Regions from separate parts of the Homo sapiens genome. Here region 2 is linked to region 1. Evidence: promoter capture Hi-C in human tissues and cell types (Jung and others, 2019). All regions are on one chromosome and are shown on one strand. Each heading gives the region's core, a stretch centred on a gene start or on the middle of the fragment in contact. The rest is flanking DNA. Distances are from core to core; before and after follow the strand shown.

Region 1 (4,603 bases), core at 1,474-3,973:
GTTGTCTCATGGCTCTAAATGGAAGCAGTAGCTTCCTGGTATTTGGGCAGTAACTCCATTCTGCTCTTAGCTACTACAGCCCCGTTCTTTCTTTCCTATGCTTTTTTAGCCTCTCCAACAACTTTGTTATCAATTCCCTGCATTAAATCCCCCTTTGATATAGGTATCAAAAGTTTTTGTCCTGAAGAAACACTGTCCAATATAGTTAATTTCTTCCACTCATTCATTATTCATTAAATAAAAATTCATTTATTACTTACTAATGTAATGGGTACTTTGGAAGCGATGATAAACAAGACAAAGTCCCTGCTCTTGTGAAGTCTGTATATTAGTGAGAAGTCAGACAATAAGAAGTAAACAAACAAGATGATTTAAGACTGTGATAGGTGCTATAAAAACAGAAGCAGAGGCTGGATGCGATGGCTGATGCCTGTAATCCCAGCACTTTGGGAGGCTGAGGCAGGCAGATCACCTGAGGTCAGGAGTTTGAGACCAGCCTGGCCAACATGGCAAAACCCCGTCTCTACTAAAAAATACAAAAATTAGCCAGCATGGTAGTATGCGCCTGTAATCCCAGCTACTCAAGAGGCTGAGGCAGGAGAATCACTTGAACCCGAGAGGCGGAGGTTGCAGTGAGCTGAGATCATGCCACTGCACTCCAGCCTGGGCAAAGGAGTGAGACTCTGTCTCAAAAAAAAAAAAAAATAGATGTGGCTTAAACAATAAATAATTGTCTCTCTTGTGTAAATGAAATTAGGAGGTAAAGGCAGGTAGCCTAGAACTGATATGGTTGCCATAAATAATCAAGTCTCCTTTAGGCTCAGTACTTCATTTTCCCTACAGTGTGACCCCCTTTCTGTGGTCCAGTATGGTGCTAGAGCTGCAGCCAACACATCCCAAATCCAGGCAGCTGAATGGAGGATGGGATTAAGAAGAGGCAAAGACCATCATGCAGTAGCTCCCTTTTAAGGGGGTTTCTAGGAAGCTACCATGCAATACTTTGATTATATTTTATTGGCCTGAACTCAGTCAGCTGGCCATACCTAGCTGCAAAAGAGGCTGGGAAATATAACTATATGCCCAGTTAAAAAACTGGGAGTTCAATTATTATGAAAGAAGGGGAGAATAGATATTGAGGCAGACAACGAGTAGTCTCTACCACAAGAACCTTAGAACCTGAGGTGTCTTTATGAACACGCATTTGGACTGATTTTTTTTTTTTTTGGACAGGGTCTCACTCTATGGCCCAGTCTGGAGTGTGATGGCGCCATCACTGCTCACTTCAGCCTGAACCTCCCAGGTTCAAGCAATTCTCCTGCCTCAGTCTATGGAGTAGCTTGGACTACAGGTGTGCACCACTACACCCGGCTAATTTAAAAAAAAGTTTGTTGTTGTTGTTGTTGTTGTTTTTGTGGAGATGAGGTCTCACTATGTTGCCCAGGCTGGTCTCAAACTCCTGGCTTGTGATCCTCCTGCCTTGGCCTCCCAAAGTGCTGGGATTACAGGTGTGAGCCACTGTGCCTGGCCTGGACTAATTCTTTACAAGTTTTCTCCACCACCGGATAGATCTCTTCACGGCAGAGACTTGATCTATCAGTTGTATTCCCAGTTTGTCCTACAGTGCTTTAGACATGATTGATAGTAACATGATTTTGGAAGTGAATAGGATATAATCTTAAAGCATTCAGGAAGCCATTGTTAGCAAACGTTGCAGAGCAGTAGGTGTGATCTCAATTCCTCTCACCAGCCTATGCATTTCCTTAGTCAGTAAATCACTGAATCTATTTCTGTCTTGAGTATTGCATGTTGACTGTGGCATGTGATTGAGCATAAAAAGGCGTTAGCGATATGCATCCAGAGATCTCACTGAGGTCTAAAGCACTGAGAAGACTTCATTAGGTGAAACTTGGGTTGGTGAAACACCTTTTTTCTTACTGGCAGTATATTAATGATAACATTTGTATAGCATATTATTTACATCCTCACAACATCACCAGGATATTTTTATTTTCATCCTTATCTTACTGTTGAAGAAATGGAGGCTCAGAGAAGATAAAAATATTCAATTTAGCAAGTGGCAGATCTGGAAGTAGAAACCAGATTTTATGAAACCAAAGGCATCTCTAGAGAATTTTTTTTTTATTTCAGTAAAATTACTGCGTACCTATTGTGGAGAAGACCACCACATCCTTTGGTTTCACTTTTAGGTGACTTATAAAGTAATAGGGAGAAATGAGGGCAGATCATTTTGCTAGCTCTAACTGAAGAATTCCAGTCAATCAATACTGTGGCTGTTATCGGCTTTATAAAAGACTACTATTCCCAGCATGCCTCAAGGCACCTCCAGGAAGACCTTGACTCCCAGCATTCTGTACTTTGGAACTCCGAGTCCCAGAATGCAACATTCCTCCTACTTCCTCTCAGGGGGCCGTCGAGACTACAGTTCCCAGCATGCAGCGCCGCCACCTGCTTCTGGCGCCCCGCTGGACCCTGCTTCGAAGGGACCGTTTGGTCGCCAGAGGGCGGTTCCTGGAGTTACAGCCGCGTTTGCGGGACGTGTCTGCGCGGCAGTCCTGGCCTGTTGAGCTTGTCCAGACGAAGCCTCGCAGGGATGGGTTGGAGCCTGGGCCGGGCTTCGCTCAGGCAGCGTTTGAGGCAGACCCAGCAGGGTCCTCCTGGGGCCTTCCTGCCTTTGAACTGCGGTGGCGGGCGGGCGCACGGTCTCCTGTACGCCCTAGACTAGGGGCCGCCATCTCCATGGCCACGGCCGTGAGCCGGCCCTGCGCCGGCAGGTCGCGGGACATACTGTGGCGCGTGAGTGCGGCGTGCACTGTGGCACGCACTGCCAGGGTCGGGCCGGGCGGGCAAGCTCTGATCGCGCGTGCGCGCTGGGCGGGGGAGGGCCGGTCCCGGGGCAGCGTGGAGAGAACGCGTGGGGAAGGCACCACTTGGGGGACTGATTGCAGGGTTGTGGGAAGTCCTGAGTGGAAGTTGGTTACGGGGTAGGAGAGGGGTCCTGAGTGGAAGGAAGCTGGTCAGAGTGGGACGGATGGACTGAATGGAAATTGGAATAGGGAGTGAGGCGGAGTTTTACGCAAGGGTACCGTATCCAGTAGGTGCAAAATAAATAACTTAATTTGTTTCGTTAAGAAGTGGGAAGGAATGCACGGAATTGGAAAGAAATGTGGCATTAGTAGAGGCTGGGGTTAGGGTCCAGTAAGCAGGGCAGGTGTTCTTTGTAAGGTAGAATGGGACTGAGCTGAGTGGAATAGTACTTCCTCCTTAAAGTTACGGAATTAACAGTACTACATCGCTTCTCTGGAGTGCAAAGAGAAAGAGGAGAAAGATCCCTTTTGGAAAAGTGCTTCTATCCCAGTGCACTGCCATCTCCCCTGTATTCCAAACTAAAAACTTTTGGGTCCGTAAGTCTTATCTTTTTTTTTTTTTGAGCCGGAGGCTCGCTCCCTGTTGCCCAGGCTGCAGTGCAATGGCGCGTTGTCGGCTCACTGCAACCCCCGCCTCCAGGGTTCAAGGAGTTCTGCCTCAGCTTCCCGAGGAGCGGGGATTATAGATACGCACCACTACGCCCAGCTAATTTTTGTATTTTTAGTAGAGATGGGGTTTCACCATGTTGGTCAGGCCGGTCTTGAACTCCTGACCTCAAGTGAGTCATCCGCCTCGGTCTCCCAAAGTGCTGAGATTACAGGCGTGAGCCACCGTGCCTGGCCTCTAAAATTTTTTTAAAAATTATTTTTATAATAGAGATACGATATCTTCTCCAGCCTGGTCTTGAGCTCCTGGGCTCAACTAGTCCTCCTGCCTCAGCCGCCTAACTATTTGGGACATCAGGTGCATGCCATCGTGCCTGGTGTATGTTTAGCATGCATGAGTACTTCATTCCTTTTTGTGGCTGAATAATCCACTGTATGGACATACCACATATTTTGTTTATCCATTCATCAGTATGTGGGTATTTGGGTTGTTGCCACCTTTGGCACTTGTGAGCCACCGCACTTGGCTGACAGTGTCTTCTGAAGCAAAAAAGTTTTAAATATTGCTGATGTCCAATTTATCTATATTTTTCTTTTGTTGCTTATGCTTTTGGTGTCATATCTAAGAAACCATTGCCAAATCCAAGATCATGAAGGTTTACTCCTATGTTTTCTTCCAAGAGTTTTATAGTTTTAGCTCTTACATGTAGGTCTTTAATCCATTTTGAGTTAATTTTTGTATAGAATGTGGGATAGGAGGCTGGGCGCTGTGGCTCACGCCTGTAATCTTAACACTTTGGGAGGCTGAGGTGGGAGGATCACTTGGGGTCAGGAGTTCGAGACCCCATCTCTACTGAAAAAAAAATTAGTCAGGTGTGGTGGCGGGCACCTGTAACCCCAGCTACTCAGGTGGCTGAGGCAGGAGAATCACTTGAACCCGGGAGGAGGAGGTTGCAGTGAGCTGAGATGGCACTGTTGCATCTAGCCTGGGGGACAGAGCGAGCTGTCTCAAAATCACAACATCAAAAAGAATGTGGGATAGGAGTTCAACTTTATTCTTTTTTTTTTTTTTTTTTGTTAGACAGAGTCTTGCTCTGTTGCCCGGGCTGGAA
Region 2 (4,482 bases), core at 1,620-4,119, 370 kb after region 1:
AGCACTGGGGTAAGTGATAGCTTCAGCCCCCAAGCCAGGGTAGTCCCAAATCACCGCATCATCCTGTCCAGGCTGACACCAGTGCTGACCTGCAGACCTCAGGCCTCAGCATGCGTGGTCTGCCCTGCTGAAAACACTCTTATGTCTGTATAGCAGTAACTGAAAAGTTCTTGTGACAGTGCCTGCCTCCAGTGCCTTCCAACAAAGCCCAGGCCCTAGGCCCCAGCCACCACACTGACGTAAGAGAATAGTTAGGGTATCACTTCTCAATGATCCCCCCACTACCTATCCCAGGACTTAGGAGGATGCCTGGACACCTCTGCCCACAGGCAAAAAAGGAAGTAAAGTTGACCTGTTCTCTTGGGTGCCAGCCCTTCCCTGGACAGAGAACAGGACACTGCCCTGACCATGGAATCCTTCACACCAGGTCCCCATCCTCCTCTGCATCCTTACTGGGAGTACTCATCTCTTTCTTCTCTGCCTAACTCATTATTGCCCCTTATGTTGTGGTTGAGGCCCTGACTCCTGCAGAAGGCTTTCTCTGACCACTCCCACAGCCTCCCTACCTCTCTGTTCTAGTATGAATCCCCTAAGACTCTCTGTCTCTCCCACTAGATGTCATGTTCCTCATGGGCAGAGCTGGGAACTGTCAAGTTCTGAATCTAGTAGAAACACAGGATGTTTTCTAAATGAAGGTATAAATGCAACCAATGGAAGAAGCCGAGGACCCTAAAACAGAATTGGTTCAAGTTCTGTTTTTTTAAATGCATGTTCCTATGCAGGGACTATGGAAGGAGCTGGAGGAAGGAAACTAAGACATCTTTACATTTTGTGTGTCTACATCAGATTTCCTTAAAAGGTCTCCATTGCTTAAAATAACAACAGTAATAATAAAGAAGTCTACTAGCCTGGCCCAATCCCCTCACTTGATAAAGAAAGGGGAGGTAGAACAGGGAGGGCAGGAACTAAAAATAGGAACTAAGCAAGTGCAGACAAGGCCAGCCACAGGCCACAAACCAAGGCCCCCAATCTCCCCAACTCAGGCTCCTGCCAACCCTACCTTCCACCAGGATCAAAGGGAGAATAAGCCTTCCACAAGGATTTCCATTGCTCATTTTATTTCAATAGCCAACTGTCCTCACAGAAGAAACTGTTCATGTCACAGGTGATCAGAAGCACCATTCTATTCCCTAGGGACTGCATCAGTGCTTATGAACAGCCTACTTTTTAAAGTTGGCAATCACTATAAAAACATCAAATAGTCAAACTAATAAATTTTTTAAAACCAGTGCCCATAATGGCTGAAACTTTATGGAGGGGGAATGAAGTAGCCCCAGCAGCCAGGATGCTTGCTAGTAAAACCCCTTAGAGGAGGGGCAAGGGGCTGTGGCCAGGAAGATGTGGGGGACAGAGCAGCAAGGCAGGATGCTGCAGAACCTGCTGTCAACGACCCTGGTCCTGGCTGCTGGCTCCAGCCACCTGGATGAACTGGAATCTTGATGTCTGTGGTGCCCCCAGCAACCTGGAGGACCAGGCAAAGGCAGCAGAAGGCTGAAATAGATGGTGCCTCCTGTCCTAGAGTGGGGCCTGAGGAAATCAAATACTGCCTCTGGGGCTTGTTCCAATAAATGGTAGTGTAACCCAAGGACAGTTAAATTCATTCCTAAATGGGAGCTTCTCCCAGCGCCCACTCCTCAGAGCCCTGGCCCTCCCCTGGTAATAGCTTCCTCCACACTCTTCTTCAACTGTACAGCGCAGGATTGAAACTTAGAAATTGCTCTCCTTCCTCCTATCTTAAACTGGGAATCAGTTGCCATCTATGCTATCAACCTCCTTCCTCCCTACATATCACTGAATGAAGACAAGAAAACTGTTGCTGTTGCCCCCCAGTGCCCCACTCTGCTGGCCAGGAGGGCGGGCCTGGGGCCTAGTCGGACTGCTCCTGAGACGATGGCTGGCTGGGCTCACCCGACAGTACCTCTGCATCCTGGTCATCTGTGAAGGACAAAGAAGGTAGCTGGATTTAGAAAGAGCGAAAATTACAACTACCTATTTGCAGATGAAGATTTTCTTTTTTCTTATTTTATTTTAATTTTTTTGAGACAGAGTCTCGCTCTGTCACCCAGGCTGGAGTGCAGTGGTGTAATCTCAGCTCACCGCAACCTCCACCTCCCAGGTTCAAGCAATTCTCCTGCCTCGGCCTCCTGAGTAGCTGGGATTACAGGCACCCGCCAACATGCCCAGTTAATTTTTGTATTTTTAGTAGAGACAGGGTTGCCCCATGTTGGCCAGGCTGGTCTTGAACTCCTGACCTCAGGTGATCCACCCACCTCACCCTCCCCAAAGTGCTGGGATCACAGGTGTGAGTCACTGTGCCCAGCCCAGATACAGATTTTCCATAAGCCTTTCTCATCATTCCCAGCCCTAGGGGAGAATGTATTTTCTTTAACTTGTTAGGCGCCAGGAGCCTGGAATCCTAGCCTTGGCCATGTGATTCAGATTCAAGTTCCAGCTCTTGCTCTGCTCGTCACAAGCTGGGAGGAATTAGCAAGATACTCCACAGCTCTGAACCTCAGCTTCCCCTTCTGTAAAATGAGACGTATCCACCTTGCAATGGCAGCATGGGCACTAAGTGAAACAGACAGTGATAGGCCACCTTCACCAATGCCTTCATCACTTCAGGTTCTGTTTAATCCTCAGAATCCTCATGAGGTAGGGACCATTATTAGTCTCCTTTTACACATGATGAAACTGGAGCACCAAAGAGTAAATGAGCTTGCTCAAGTTACACAGCTGGGCAAGTGCTGGAGCCAGGACTCACACCCAGGCCACCCAGCACTGGGGCCAGTGGTTTTCAGCCACATGAAACCACCTCTCCAGCTACTGGATCTAGGCACTGCACACACAGGAAGTGTGCAACAGGCCTCAGTTTCCTCTTCAGTAAAATGGTGATACCACCAGACTCCTCTAGCTCATAAGATGGTCTGACAGTCATTTTAAAGGCCTAGTTGAGTTTGTCAGTTCTTTCCAAATCATAGGAGCCCCAGGGGAAGACTGAAAGGAAAAATGTCCTAGAAGCTTTAAAGCTGCAAGGGCCCTCAAAAGAAAACCCAAAACATTTTCACATCCAAAAGTTTCTTCGACCCTCACAGTAACCTAGTAAGGGGGCCCCTTTTATAGTTGAAAAGCCTCAGTGCCCAGGATCATCCAGTGCCCCAGTGGCAGAGCTTGTGAAGGACAGATTCTCTAGCTCCTGGTCTGGTTCCCTCAGAGTGGCCTGGGGCAGAGGCACAGCCCCACCACACGGGTTCCTGCTGCTGCTCCAGTCTCTCCATCTGCTCCCCTACCCCAGCTAGAGAGGCCTGGCACCTCTGGTCTTCCAAACACACCATATGCCTGCTGTCTTCCACAGCACCGCCCACGAGCCAATAAGGTGAGTGAACAGGCACTAGACTGGGAGCTAGACTGAAAAACTCTGTTCAAATCCCAGCTCTGCCATTTATACCCAAGAGAACTGCTGGAGGCCCTGGTTTCCTCACCTGGAATCCCATTCCCACCTCCCTTAGATGTGTGCCTATGGGGACTGGAGGAAGGGTGTAAGAAGGAGCTCATTCTAGGGCTCAACACCCTTTAAATTCCATGTCCCTTCTCTCCACACCTAACCTTTCTTCAGATTAGGTACCTCTTCCTCCAGAAAGTCTCCCTGGCTCTCGCTGAAGCTGGAAGACTGGAGCTCACTCACCAGTGTTCTCCTTGTCAGTATCAAACAGGACGGTCAGTGAGAAAGATGATGGAGGTGGTGGTGGCGGTGGCGGGGGGAGGAAGTGGAGCGCAGAGAGGTAGCCTGGCGGGAGGAACTGGGGCTGCGGTGGAAGCGGTGGAAGGGGCGGCAGTGGCGGCGGCGGCGGCGGCAGGTAGTAGCTTGGCTGGAAGTCTCCTCCTGGTTCTGACACCTGCACGGCACACACAGCAGAGAGGCGGAGAGGAGAGAGAGTTAGCCAGATGGGCTGACCAAACATAGCTCTCACCCCTGAAGTGGGGGGCTCCTGATGGGGTAGATGCACGGCCCCAAACACACAGGCACAGGGCATTTGGAAGGGGGCATTCAGCAAACACCTGCCAAATTATTGAAGGCAAGAAGGAACACAGGCAACCTCAGATAAGCATGGGAACAGCTGAACGGTCACAGTGACAGAGCCCTTCTGTATATGCCAGGGCGATTGTGCTTGGGTGCTCAGAATCCTAGGCGGTGGGTTCTATTACTATTCTTGCTGTAATTATGAAAAACAGGTTCAGTGAGATGAAGCTACAGGCCCAGGGCCGCAGAGCTGCTTTGTGGTTAAGGGGCAGAACTGGATCCCAAGTTGGCTGACTCCATAGCCCACTCAGCTGACTTCTGTCCAGCGCTGCTCTGCACTGGGGAAGGGTCTGAACGCATCCCAACCCCACAGGACCCCCTGTCTGGCACATGTGGTGACTTAA

The links. Contacts are between HindIII fragments. The study calls those that stand out against the background at their distance.
Region 2: a contact is called between a fragment that was not itself captured here and the fragment with the promoter of NDC1 in region 1, in 1 of the 25 tissues and cell types used here (IMR-90 fibroblasts).

Annotation. Positions count from the first base shown.
Region 1 is chr1:53,836,416-53,841,018 of GRCh38, reverse strand. It overlaps NDC1 (NDC1 transmembrane nucleoporin), which reads left to right and starts at 2,723. Exons shown (of 18, transcript NM_018087.5): 1 at 2,723-2,814. The coding sequence starts at 2,758. RefSeq lists an enhancer at 2,250-2,729 and a silencer at 2,840-2,969. The HindIII fragment of the contact is 21,020 bases long and covers 1-4,603 here.
Region 2 is chr1:53,464,108-53,468,589 of GRCh38, reverse strand. DMRTB1 (DMRT like family B with proline rich C-terminal 1) reads right to left here. Exons shown (of 4, transcript NM_033067.3): 3 at 3,743-3,953; 4 at 1,102-1,995. The coding sequence ends at 1,928. Among named protein-coding and RNA genes, the nearest start is that of DMRTB1, 7.0 kb to the right of the region's middle. The HindIII fragment of the contact is 7,613 bases long and covers 1-4,482 here.